3 separate regions of the Homo sapiens genome follow, and regions 1 and 2 are each linked to region 3. Evidence: promoter capture Hi-C in 16 types of primary human blood cells and fetal thymus (Javierre and others, 2016). All regions are on one chromosome and are shown on one strand. The core of a region is centred on a gene start or on the middle of the fragment in contact, and the rest is flanking DNA. Distances in the headings are between cores, read along the strand shown.

Evidence for each region. The method cuts DNA at HindIII sites, captures the fragments that hold promoters and counts their contacts. A CHiCAGO score of 5 or more calls a contact.
Region 1: the fragment with the promoter of PYCARD here is called in contact with a fragment that was not itself captured in region 3 in 2 of 17 cell types (endothelial precursors and activated CD4 T cells); the score reaches 6.1 in endothelial precursors.
Region 2: the fragment with the promoter of HSD3B7 here is called in contact with a fragment that was not itself captured in region 3 in 2 of 17 cell types (fetal thymus and naive B cells); the score reaches 8.8 in fetal thymus.

What each region holds. Positions count from the first base shown.
Region 1 is chr16:31,200,927-31,204,758 of GRCh38, forward strand. It overlaps PYCARD (PYD and CARD domain containing), which reads right to left and starts at 1,834. Exons shown (of 3, transcript NM_013258.5): 1 at 1,491-1,834; 2 at 1,221-1,277; 3 at 560-915. The coding sequence starts at 1,764. The coding sequence ends at 659. PYCARD-AS1 (PYCARD antisense RNA 1) reads left to right here and starts at 959. Exons shown (of 2, transcript NR_102400.1): 1 at 959-1,060; 2 at 1,534-2,526. RefSeq lists enhancers at 665-1,295, 1,485-1,714 and a silencer at 1,825-2,184. The HindIII fragment of the contact is 5,508 bases long and covers 1-3,014 here.
Region 2 is chr16:30,982,274-30,986,456 of GRCh38, forward strand. It overlaps HSD3B7 (hydroxy-delta-5-steroid dehydrogenase, 3 beta- and steroid delta-isomerase 7), which reads left to right and starts at 2,934. Exons shown (of 7, transcript NM_025193.4): 1 at 2,934-3,024; 2 at 3,380-3,551; 3 at 3,776-3,931; 4 at 4,150-4,183. The coding sequence starts at 3,386. It overlaps SETD1A (SET domain containing 1A, histone lysine methyltransferase), which reads left to right. Exons shown (of 19, transcript NM_014712.3): 18 at 1,362-1,499; 19 at 1,577-2,391. The coding sequence ends at 1,750. RefSeq lists an enhancer at 2,403-2,915. The HindIII fragment of the contact is 29,451 bases long and covers 1-4,183 here.
Region 3 is chr16:31,854,094-31,858,042 of GRCh38, forward strand. No RefSeq gene overlaps it. Among named protein-coding and RNA genes, the nearest start is that of ZNF267, 18 kb to the right of the region's middle. The HindIII fragment of the contact is 2,825 bases long and covers 105-2,929 here.

The DNA.
Region 1 (3,832 bases), core at 584-3,083, 650 kb before region 3:
GCTTTGGTGGTTGGCATGTTTTTTGAGCAAAGTGCAACCTATGACCCTTTCCCCCACGGGATGGGGTGGGGCAGAGGGAGCCTTTAAGCCTGTTAAGAGCCAGCACCAGAAGGAGCCCTCGAGCAATTTGGTGACTTGTGCTCTTCTGTCCTATGTTTAGATAATGCTCTAATGTGTCTCCCCCTGCAAATTTCTCTAATTCTGCATTTTTCTCCAGTGGAAAATGTGGAAGGTAGGGGAGCTATGAAGACTAGTGTGTTTCTAAATGGCTTGGACAGAGCTGCCCACCAGTTTGCGCCCTTTGGTACATGCCTCTTTTAACCTTCGGACCTGGGTCACAGGCTGTTATCTATAATGGTAAGGTTAGACCCTTTAGGGAGCACTGGAGGAGCACCACCTGGTGAATGAGGAGGGATATTCCATGGCGATACCAGGAAGGATGGGGGAAGCATTTGGGGTGCCAGAGACCCTAGGGACATGGAGCTGGAGGCTGGGTGGCCTCTGAAGCATAGCTGAGCTCTGCACATGCCAGCAGGCTAGAAGCAGGAAAACACACAAGTTCAAGCTGGCTTTTCGTATATTGTGTATAAAAAGATCAGATTCAGGATGATTTGGTGGGATTGCCAGGGGCTGACCGGAGTGTTGCTGGGAAGGAGCCTCAGCTCCGCTCCAGGTCCTCCACCAGGTAGGACTGGGACTCCCTTAGGGCCTGGAGGAGCAAGTCCTTGCAGGTCCAGTTCCAGGCTGGTGTGAAACTGAAGAGCTTCCGCATCTTGCTTGGGTTGGTGGGCTCGGCCCGCACTGCCTGGTACTGCTCATCCGTCAGGACCTTCCCGTACAGAGCATCCAGCAGCCACTCAACGTTTGTGACCCTCGCGATAAGCGCAGCCCGGTGCTGGTCTATAAAGTGCAGGCCTGGGGGTGGGAGGAGAACATGAGCCAGCAGCCAGGGTGTGGGGCCTGTCCCTGCTGAACTTGAGTTCTTCAGGAATTCCTCTGCAAGCCTAGGGGCAGGGCTCCAGGGGGCGGCCACCAGGACCCCACATGCAGTGGGATGAGGGTAATATTGTCTCCCTTCCCCCGCAGGGTGTGGGTTGGTGGGTGGGGTGCGCAGGGTTGCCAAGCCGTGCCTGCCCTGCCCTGCCCTGCCCTGGTTGCGGGAGCACAGATGCAGGCTGTGCAGGAGTGCGGTGGGGCCGGGCTGGGTGTGGAGGCCTCACCTGGCTTGGCTGCCGACTGAGGAGGGGCCTGGATCCCAGCTGGCGCGGCTCCAGAGCCTGGAAGGATATGGGCCAAGTGATCCCCTTCCCTTCCCTTCCCGCCGTGGGGCCGGGGTCCCGTTGGTCGGTAGGCCAAGCGTGGGGAGCCTCCTTTCCGGTAGAGCAGCTTTGTTTAGGGGTAGGAGGAACAGAAAGCGGAAGAGCCCGCGGGGTAAGCGCTGGTGTGGGTGGAGGGGAAAGACGGGGTGGAGGGGAACGGGGGCGGCTCACCCTGGTGCGTGGCCGCCTGCAGCTGCCCGGCCATCTCCTGCAGGCCCATGTCGCGCAGCACGTTAGCGGTGAGCTCGGCGCCGTAGGTCTCCAGGTAGAAGCTGACCAGCTTGTCGGTGAGGTCCAAGGCGTCCATGGACAGCAGCGCGCCCCGCGGGATGCGCCCGTAGCCCTCGCGCAGCGGCACCGACAGCAGCTTCAGCTTGAACTTCTTGAGCTCCTCGGCGGTCAGGTTCTCCAGCGCATCCAGGATGGCGTCGCGCGCGCGCCCCATGGCTCCAGGATCCCCGGCCGCTGCCGCCGCTCACCCCGCTGCAGCCGCCGACCAGGAGGAAGTCGGCTCCGGGGCGGAACCTGGACTCCCCGCCTTCCTCCCACTCTGGTCTCCCGACTCCCCGCCCCGGTCCGTTGCCCTCCAGCAAAAGGCGCTTCCTTACTACACCCTTGGTCCCCTCCCACCCAGGCCTCTGGATTGGGGCCCCAGGCCGTCGGGGGACGCCAGGATCGCGCCCTCCAGCTGGCCTGCGAGGTGGGACCCGGGAGGGGGCCGCAGAGGGGCTCATGGGTGGCGCCTGCTTGTCTCTGGGCTTGCACCAGCGGGTACAGACCGGAAACCTGGGCTGGCTCTCACTGGGTTTATTGGAGCACCTAGGCTTAGAACCTCGGATTTCTAGAACCCCGAAACCTCCGCGGTTCCCCGAACCTTAGGATCCTCTCCCACATGTCGTAGAATCTTGGAATCATGACAGCTAGAAGCGTGAAGCTCCCTCAATTCCACATACTGGGGAAAAATGAGTTGTACAAAAGGGCAGAGAGTGCAAATCTCTCTGAGCTTCAGTTTCATTTTCTACGACATGGGGATAACCCTCCGGTGCTTATAAATATTCCAGCATAACATGGCCAACCCGATGGCTCCCGAAACCTTGCCAGATGCTTCCTAGGGGAGCCAGAATTTGATCCCAACACTGATTAAAAAAAAGAAAAAAGAAAGAGAGACAGCCTCCAGGAGATTAAAGACCATGAACTTGAAGCCATACAGTTCTTTGTTTGAATCCTGACTCTACTTCCCAAGGGGGATATTTGGAATCCTTTATTTTTCCCTCTCATCTGGGTTGTAACAATCACTGTTCCTTGTAGTCATACGACCCTGACATATTATACGTTTATATGCTTATTGGACATTCATCCCTCTCTAAAATGTGAGGCCTATGAGCATCGGAGACCTTAACTGTCTTATTCTTTGCTGAATTCCTAGCGTCAAGAATGTACCTGGAAATAGCTGTGTGTGGTGGAGGGCGCCTGTAATCCTAGCTACTAGGGCGGCTGAGGCATGAGAATCGCTTGAACCTCGGAGGCAGAGGCTACAGTGAGCCAAGATTGCACCACTGCACTCCAGCCTGGGTGACAGAGCTAGATTCCATCTGAAAAAAAAAAATGTATCTGGAACACATTAGGTGCTGAGTAAAGATTTGCTGAGTGAAGGAATGAATGAGGCTGTGATGCCTGCAGCATGTTGTATTCAAAAGCTTCCAGCATGGCTGGGTGCAGTGGCTCATCACGCATGTCATCTCAGTGCTTTGGGAGGCTGAGGCCGGAGGGTCACTTGAGCCCAGGAGGTTGAGGGTGCAGTGAGCTATGATTGTGCCACTGCACTCTGTGCCACTCGGCAACAGACACCTTGTCTCAAAAACAAACAAGACAACCAGGATGGGCCGGGCACGGTGACTCATGCCTGTAATCCCAGCATTTTGGGAGGGCGAGGTGGGTGATCAGGAGTTTGAGACCAGCCTGGCCAACAGAGTGAAACCCCATCTCTACTAAAAATACAAAAATTAGCCGGGCGTGGTGGCAGGTGCCTGTAATCCCAGCTACTGGGGAGGCTGAGGCAGGAGAATCGCCTGAACCCGTGAGGTGGAGGTTGCAGTGAGCTGAGATCACACCATTGCACTTCAGCCTGGGCAACAAGAGCGAAACTCCATCTCAAAACAGGAACAAAAACAAACAAACAAAAACCACGATGGGGAGCAGTGCTCTGCTACCCTGCTGAAAGCCTTTTTGTTGTTGTTGTTGTTGTTGTTTGTTTTTTCTTTTGAAGACAGGACCTCACTCTGTTGCCCAGGCTGGAGTACACCGGAGGGATTGTGGCTCACTGCAGCCTTGAACTCCTGGGCTCAAGCAATTCTCTCACCTCGGCCTCCTGAGTACCTGCGACTACAGTTGTGCCACCATGCCTGGCTAGTTTTTAAAATTTTTATAGAGAATGGGTTTCCCTATGTTGTTCAGGCTGGTCTCAAAGTCCTGGGCTCAGCAGTCCTCCTGCCTTGGCCTCCCAACATGCTAGG
Region 2 (4,183 bases), core at 1,684-4,183, 870 kb before region 3:
GCAGATCACCTGAGGTCAGGAGTTCGAGACCAGCCTGGCCAGCATGCTAAAACCCCGTCTCTACTAAAAATACAAAAATTAGCCAGGCGTGGTGGCAGGCGCCTGTAATCCCAGCTACTAGGGAGGCTGAGGCAGGAGAATCGCTTGGACCTGGGAGGCAGAGGTTGCAGTGAGCCAAGATCGCGCCATTGCACTCCAGCCTGGGCGACAGAGCAAGACTCCGTCTCAAAAAAAAAAAAAAGAAAAGAAAAAACAGGGTCAGTGGCAGCGACGTGTGGCTGGAGGGAACAGAGAGCCCAGACCGCACGGGCTTGGGAGCCTGTGAATCCACTTGGGCCTGTGGTGAGAGAGGAGGAAAGTCCCGGAGCTTTCTTCAGGAGAGGGTCCTTCCGCAGGAGAGGGTCCTTCCGCAGGAGAGGGCCCCATGGCTAGTGAGCTCCATGTCTAGGCTGACACCAGTATCCAGGCAAAGGCAAGGGTGGCCCGACCCAAGCAGTGGCAGCAGAGGTGACAGAGAGGAGGCTTTGGGTGCAAGGTGGTTGGCTGGGCTCAGCAGTGAGAGGGTGAGGGGGACGGGAGGCCCTCTCTCGGTGCTGCTCTTAGCTGCTGGGAGTATGATGGGAGGGCCAGTGAGATGGGTGTGAGGAGGAAGAACAAATATATGGTCAAGATGAGCTCCAGTCTGGACATGTGGGGTTGCAATGCCCCAGGGACATCTAGGGGATGACGCCCAGCAGCTCCACTGAGGTGGCTTTTGGCTGGAAATGGAAGTTTGGGAGGAGTCCCCACCACATAGCTGGCGGCTGAGGCTCTGGAAGGGAGTGAGGTCACCCGAGGAGGGCGTGCAGAGGCTCCTCACTGTCTTCTGGGAAGTAAGGGTTGCTCCTCACACGGAGGTGCGGGGCCTGACATGGGCGGCCTGCCATTTGCATTAGCCGGTGGCAGCCAACAGGTGCCTGTTTTGGAGAGAGGTCCAGGGAGGAGAGATGAGCAGGGTGCCGTTGGTGACATGGCCAGTCATTTCAGGAGCTGCCCCAACCCCAGACTTGCCCCAGCAGTCCGGGACCCCACTGTGACCAGGCAGATGCTCGAAGGAGTCAGTGGCTCTCTTACCCAGTGCAGATTTCCCTGGAGTTCCCTGCGGGTGACTTAGAATGGCCACCAGAGGCTTAGGATGCTGCCCCAAAGAGGGAGGGCTCCTGGAAGCAGAGTCGAGAGAGTCAGTGCCGGGTTAGCGGGAGCTGGAGGCAGAGCTGCAGCTCCAGGCCTGGTGGGCGTGGACCTGGGGTGCTGGCTGGCAGGCGTGCTCAGGGGCAGGAAGTGGGGGACTCTTCCCTGACCATCGCATCTCACCCTGGCAGATGGTGGCCGACATGCGGGAGAAGCGCTACGTGCAGGAGGGCATTGGCAGCAGCTACCTGTTCCGGGTGGACCACGACACCATCATCGATGCCACCAAGTGTGGCAACCTGGCCAGATTCATCAACCACTGCTGCACGGTGCGCCAGGGGCCAGCCGGGGCAGGAGTTGGGGGTCGGTGGGGGTGGCCACGGCTCACACGCCCTTCCATCCGCAGCCTAACTGCTACGCCAAGGTCATCACCATCGAGTCCCAGAAGAAGATCGTGATCTACTCCAAGCAGCCCATTGGCGTGGACGAGGAGATCACCTACGACTACAAGTTCCCACTGGAAGACAACAAGATCCCGTGTCTGTGTGGCACAGAGAGCTGCCGGGGCTCCCTAAACTGAGGTGGGGCAGGATGGGTGCCCACACCCCTATTTATTCCCCCTGGTGCCCTGAGCTCCCAGCACCCCCCCAGCCTTAGTGGGCTCAGCAGGGCCCACATGCCCCCATCTCCAAGCGTGGGGTTGGGGGCCCCAAGCCCAGCGAGGGAGCCTCAGTCCCTGGAGGCAGCTTCTGCCTCTCCTGTCACCCCTGCCCACCACCCCCTGATTGTTTTTCTTTGCGGAGAAGAAGCTGTAAATGTTTTGTAGCAGCCAGCAGCTGTTTCCTGTGGAAACCTGGGGTGCCGGCCTGTACAGATTCTGTCCTGGGGGGCTACACAGTCCTCTTGCTTTGTGTTAATGGGGACTTCCCCTTACGCCCTGCGTGTACCCCTCCCCAGTTTAGGGGTCTCTGGGGCAGTGGCCATGTTCTCCCCCTGGGGGGGCTCTGCACCCCCAGTCCTGGGGACTCCGTGCCTGGAACCCTGCCTCATCTGTTCCTGCCAGACCCTGAGGGTCACCCTTCCACCCTGGTGTCACTCCCCGGCTCAGCCAGGCCAGGATGGCGGGGTGGGTCCCTTTTGCTGGGCTGGACTGTACATATGTTAATAGCGCAAACCCGACGCCACATTTTTATAATTGTGATTAAACTTTATTGTACAAAAGTGTTTGGTCGGTGTATTTGGGCAGGAGCGAGGGGTTGGGGGTAGAGGGCACGGAGGGTTGTGCAAGTTGAAGAGAGGGAAAAGTGGGTACCTGAAGTGTGGGGCAGGTAAAGGGGCCTTCAGGCAAGAGCCCAGACCTGCAGAGACAGTCCGAGACTGTCTCGGACCCCCTGACAGGCTGCAGCAGCCGCACCCGCACCAGGAATACCCCACCAGTGCCCGCCAGGGTGGTGCCAAGGTCAGGCCTCCCCTTCCTACAATCACAGCTGCAGCTGGACCTCCGGCCTCCTGGGAAGCCCAGCAGGAGGGAAGGCCTGAGGTCACACTGTGGGATGAGGTCACCGCTGGCTCCACCCACAGCCCCAGACCCCTTCAGCCCACTCTGCAAGTTCGAGCTTCATCCCCACCAAGTTCTCCGCTGGACCCAGATGCCAGTGGAGCACAGAGCGGCCGCCAGGGGGCGCCTTGGGGCAAGAGTGGTGGGGGTTGTGGCTGGGCGGGTCTCTGTTCCTGGAATGGGGCAGGAGGGAGAAGGAGGAGCCAGCGGAAGGACGGTGTGCGGGCCGGCCAGCCCTGGACGAAAGAAGAGGGCCCCTCCAGGCCAGTCTGGGCACCCTGGGATAGCGGCTGCAGGTAGGCAGAGGCGCTGCCAGTGCCCAGGTGGCCTTTCCCTCCATCCGGCCCTTCCCACCTTCCTATAACCTTCCCTCCACCTCCCTCAACTCCTGGCCTCCCCACCCTTTTACTGCCTTCAAATCTCTCTCCCTAAACCCTGACCCCTTCCTGCACCCCAAGCCCGCCCCTCTCTCCGTAACTCAGCCATCAGCAGGGGCAGACGGCAGGTGGCCTGGTTGCTGCAGCTCCCAGGATCAGCTCTGCCCTCCCCGCAAACGCCAGCCTCGTCACCGCTCCAGGGCACCTCCAGCAGTAACAGGTGGTTGCAGCAGGTGGCAGCCAGCCCCTGGATGAGCCAAGGTCTCTTCCCCAGCCAGGCATGGCCGACTCTGCACAGGCCCAGAAGCTGGTGTACCTGGTCACAGGGGGCTGTGGCTTCCTGGGAGAGCACGTGGTGCGAATGCTGCTGCAGCGGGAGCCCCGGCTCGGGGAGCTGCGGGTCTTTGACCAACACCTGGGTCCCTGGCTGGAGGAGCTGAAGACAGGTTCTTGTTGGGGGAGCTTGTGGTGGAGAGGGTGTGGACGCTTCCCCAACCCTTCCCAAGCTGGGATCCCCACCCCTGCAGTGGAACAGATGATGCTGGTTTCTGTCCACATGGATGGGTCGAGTGAGTCACATTGGGAACGTGACTCCAGGGTGGAAGATGAACCCAGCCTCTGGCCTCTGGCCCCAGCTCTGACATGGCCTGTGTCCTCCAACCCCGGCCAGGGCCTGTGAGGGTGACTGCCATCCAGGGGGACGTGACCCAGGCCCATGAGGTGGCAGCAGCTGTGGCCGGAGCCCATGTGGTCATCCACACGGCTGGGCTGGTAGACGTGTTTGGCAGGGCCAGTCCCAAGACCATCCATGAGGTCAACGTGCAGGGTGAGGAGCTCTGGACACTCCTGGCCATCTTGCCTGTTTGTTCCCCACTCTGTCTTTGGCCTTGACCTCCGGTGACTCCCCTGGGACAAGTTGTCCTATTGACAGCCCTGCCCCCGCCTCCCCTGACCTGTCATGGTTTTCCCTGGACCTGGGATGGGGAGGAGGAAGATGCAGAGAGGGAAGAAGCTGCAGCTTGGATACGCCTCCTCCTCTGCCAGGTACCCGGAACGTGATCGAGGCTTGTGTGCAGAC
Region 3 (3,949 bases), core at 267-2,766:
CAGTGACAATTCTCCCTGTCATCTTAAACCCAGCTGCCATCACTATGACGTTGGTGCTCAATCCAGTCAGTGTCCTTAGGTCTTGATTTATTTTCCTTCTCTGAAGCTTTTCAATTACTTCTTTATAAATTATTTTGTCTGATGCTCACAGAAAAAGCCTGCCTAATAAGAACCCTATACCCACAAAAACTAGCTATTAAAAATGAAGGTTAAATAAAAACATTTTATGTAAATAAAAACTGATACAATTTGTTGCTAGCCAACTGACCTTATGAAAAAATGGCAAAAGAAGTTTTTCAGGCTGAAAGCAAGTAAATCCAGACAATAATTTGAATGCATAAGAAAGACAAAGCACACACTAGCAAAACTAATTACATAATTATAAGACAGTGTAAGTGAATTTATTTATTTATTTATTTATTTGCACATGAATAAATTCTTTAGTGGCGATTTCTGAGATTTTGGTGCACCCATCTCCCAGGGGCCTAATAACAGCTCCAGAAGGCCTGCCATCACTGGTGCCCTAGCATGAGCTCCAGAGGTCTGGGACTTCCCCTGCCCTGCCCACAGCCTATGCTCATGTGCATCACTAGGAGGACTTGAGAACAGGCCCACCTCACCTGCCTCTCTCCCACCCTTAGTGGTCAAATATTCCACTTGTGGACCTGAGGACAGCATTGTACAGGTGGTAGCCTCTGGCATGAGTCCACCAGGGTCCTAAAAACAGGCCAAGAAAATGTGCAGCCAGCACTCAAGCATGCTGTCTAAAGGTCTAGGAATCTCCCATGCCATCCACCACTGCTGTCATCTGGGTACTCTTGGGGTCCTAAGGATGGGCCCACCCAGACAACCACCAGCATCCACACTCATGTGTCACCTAAGGCTCTAGGGACTGTCTGATTCAGCCCATTGCAGCCACCACAAACACTGTGAGTGCTGCCTGGAAGCCTGAAGTTGCCTCAACCCCACTACTCTCCTCATCCACACGGTACACACTGCTCAGAGGCCTGAGGACTTGCCCCATTTCCTAGCCCACTGCTGTTACTACAGACATCAGAGCAAGCCTCCTGAAGGCCTGAGAATCAACAGGCTTAGGCACACTAACACCAGTGCCCACATACACTACCCAGCAGCCCAAGGACAGACACCCTCAACCCTTTACTGCTGCCACTGTCACCATGGGGGCTGAAGGACTGGCCTATCTGGTGTTCCATTCCTACCAAAACCTCACCACAGCCTCAACTAGCAAACACAGCCTAAGCAAGGTTATACCTCATAATGAAGGAGAAATAAAGACGTTCCCAGACAAGCAAAAACTGAAGAAATTCATCACCACTAGACAAGCCCTGGAAGATTACCTAGACAGAAAATCAATAATGAAACATCAGATTTAAACTGTACTTTAGACCAGGGGTCCCCAACCGTCGGGTCACAGACCAATACCCACCCCTGGCTTGTTAGGAACCAGGAAGCTCAGCAGGAGGTGAGTGGCAGGTGAGCCAGTGAAGCTGAGCTCTACCTCCTGTCAGATCAGCAGCAGCATTAGATTGTCATAGGAGCTCAAACCCTATTGTGAACTGCACATGCCAGTGATCCAGGCTGTATGCTCCTTATGAGAATCTAATGATAAATGTAATGCACTTAAATTATCCTGAAATCATCCCCCTCCCCTAGTCCTAGGAAAAATTGTCTTCCACGAAACCAGTTCCTGGTGCCAAAAAGGTTAGGCACCGTTGCTTTAGACCAAAGGAACCTAACAGACATCTGCAGAACACTTGATCCAATGACTGCAAAACATACATTCTTCTCAGAAGCACATGGAACAGTCTTCAGGATAGACCCTCTGTTAGGCCAGAAAACGAGTCTTAACAAATGTTTAAAAATTGAAATCATATCAAGTATTTTCTCATACTACAGTGAAATAAAGCCAAAAATCAGTAGCAAAAGGAACTTTGAAAACTGTACAAATACATGAAAATTAAATGACATGCTCCAGAACAACCATTGGGTTAATACAGAAATCCAAACAAATATTTAAAAAATGAAGATGAAAACACAATATTTTGGAAACTATGAAATGCAGCAAAAGCAGTGTTGAGGGAAGTTTACAGCAGTAAATACCTACATCAAAAAAGTAGAAATATTTACAGTAAACAACCTAATGATACACCTCAAGAAACCAAAAAAGCAAGAACAAACTAAGCTCAACATAAGCATAAGGAATAATAAAAATCAGTCAAGGTGCAGTGGCTCATGCCTGTAGTCCAGCACTTTGGGAGACTGAGACAGCTGGATCACCTGAGGTCACGAGTTTGAGACCAGCCTGGCCAACGTGGTGAAACCTCTTCTCTACTAAAAAATACAAAAATTAGCCAGGTGTGGTGGAGTACACCTGTAATCCCAACTACTCAGGGGGCTGAGGCAGGAGAATTGCTTGAACCCAGGAGGCAGAGGCTGCAGTGAGCCGAGATGGCACCACTGCAGTCCAACCTGGGCAACAGAGTAAGACTCCGTCTTAAAACAAAACAAAACAAACAAACAAACAAAGAAATAATAAAAATCGGAGAAGTAAGCAAACTAGAAACTTAAAAAAATACAAAGGGCCAATGAAATAAAACTTTTTTTGAAAACATGAAACAACATTCATAAACCACTAGCTAGACAAAAAATAGAGAAAAGACCCAAATAAACAATGTCAGAAATGAAAAAGCAGACATTTCAACTGATACTGCAGAAAGAAGTATGAAAGATAATCAGAGACTCCTAAGAACAATTGCATGATAACAAACTGGAAAAATTAGAGAAAATATCTAAATTCCTGGACACATACAAACTATCACTATTGAATCAGGGAGAAATAGAAGACCCAAACAAACCAATAATGAGAAATGAGATTGATACAGTAATAAAATGTCTCTCTGCAAATAAAAGCTTGGGGCTTGATAACTTGACAGCTGAATTCTACCAAACTTATAAAGAAGAACTAATATCAATTTTTCTCAAAGTATTCAAAAAATAGAAGGGGGGGGAATTCTTTGTAACTCATTCTATGAAGCAAGCATTACCCTGATATGAAAACAATACAAGGATACAATGAAAACAGAAAGCTACAGTTTAATATGATGAATAAAGATGTTAAAATCTTCAACAAAATACTAGCAAACTGAATGCAACAGCACATCAAAAAGATAACATGCCACAATCAAGTAGGATTTATCCCAGGGATGGAAGGATGGATTTCCACACACAAACCCATAAACACAATACATCACATTAACAGAATGAAATACAAAAACCATACAATCATCTCAATAGATGCAGAAAGAGCATTTGACAAAATTTAACATCTTTTCATGATAGAAACGCTCAACAAACTAGGCCTACAGGAACATACCTCAACTTAATAAAGGCCATATATGACAAATCCACAGGTAACATTATACTAAATAAGGAAAAGCTTAAATCTTTTCTGCTAGGGACTAGAACTAAACAACGATGTTCATTTTCACTATTTCTATTCAACAAAGTACTGGAAGTCCTAGCCGAAGTAATCAGGCAAGAGAAAGAAATAAAAGGCATCTAAATAGGAAAAGTGAAAGTTTAATTGTTGCTTTGTGCAAATGACATGATCTTATATTTAGAAGAACATAAAGATGCCACCAAAAAACTATTAGATTTGATAAATATGATCAGCAAAGTTGCAGGACACAAAATCAACATACAGAAATCAGGAGCATTTCTACATAATAAGTAAGTGGCTGAAACAGAAGTCAAGGAAGCCATCTCATTTACAATAGCTACAAAATATTAAAATACCTAGTAATAAATTTAGCTGTGGTGGTGAAAGACTTCTACAAGGAGAACTAAAAAACACTGATGTAAGATACTGAAGAGTACATAAAAAAATGAAAGGACATTGCATGCCCATAGATTCCATGCCCATAATTTT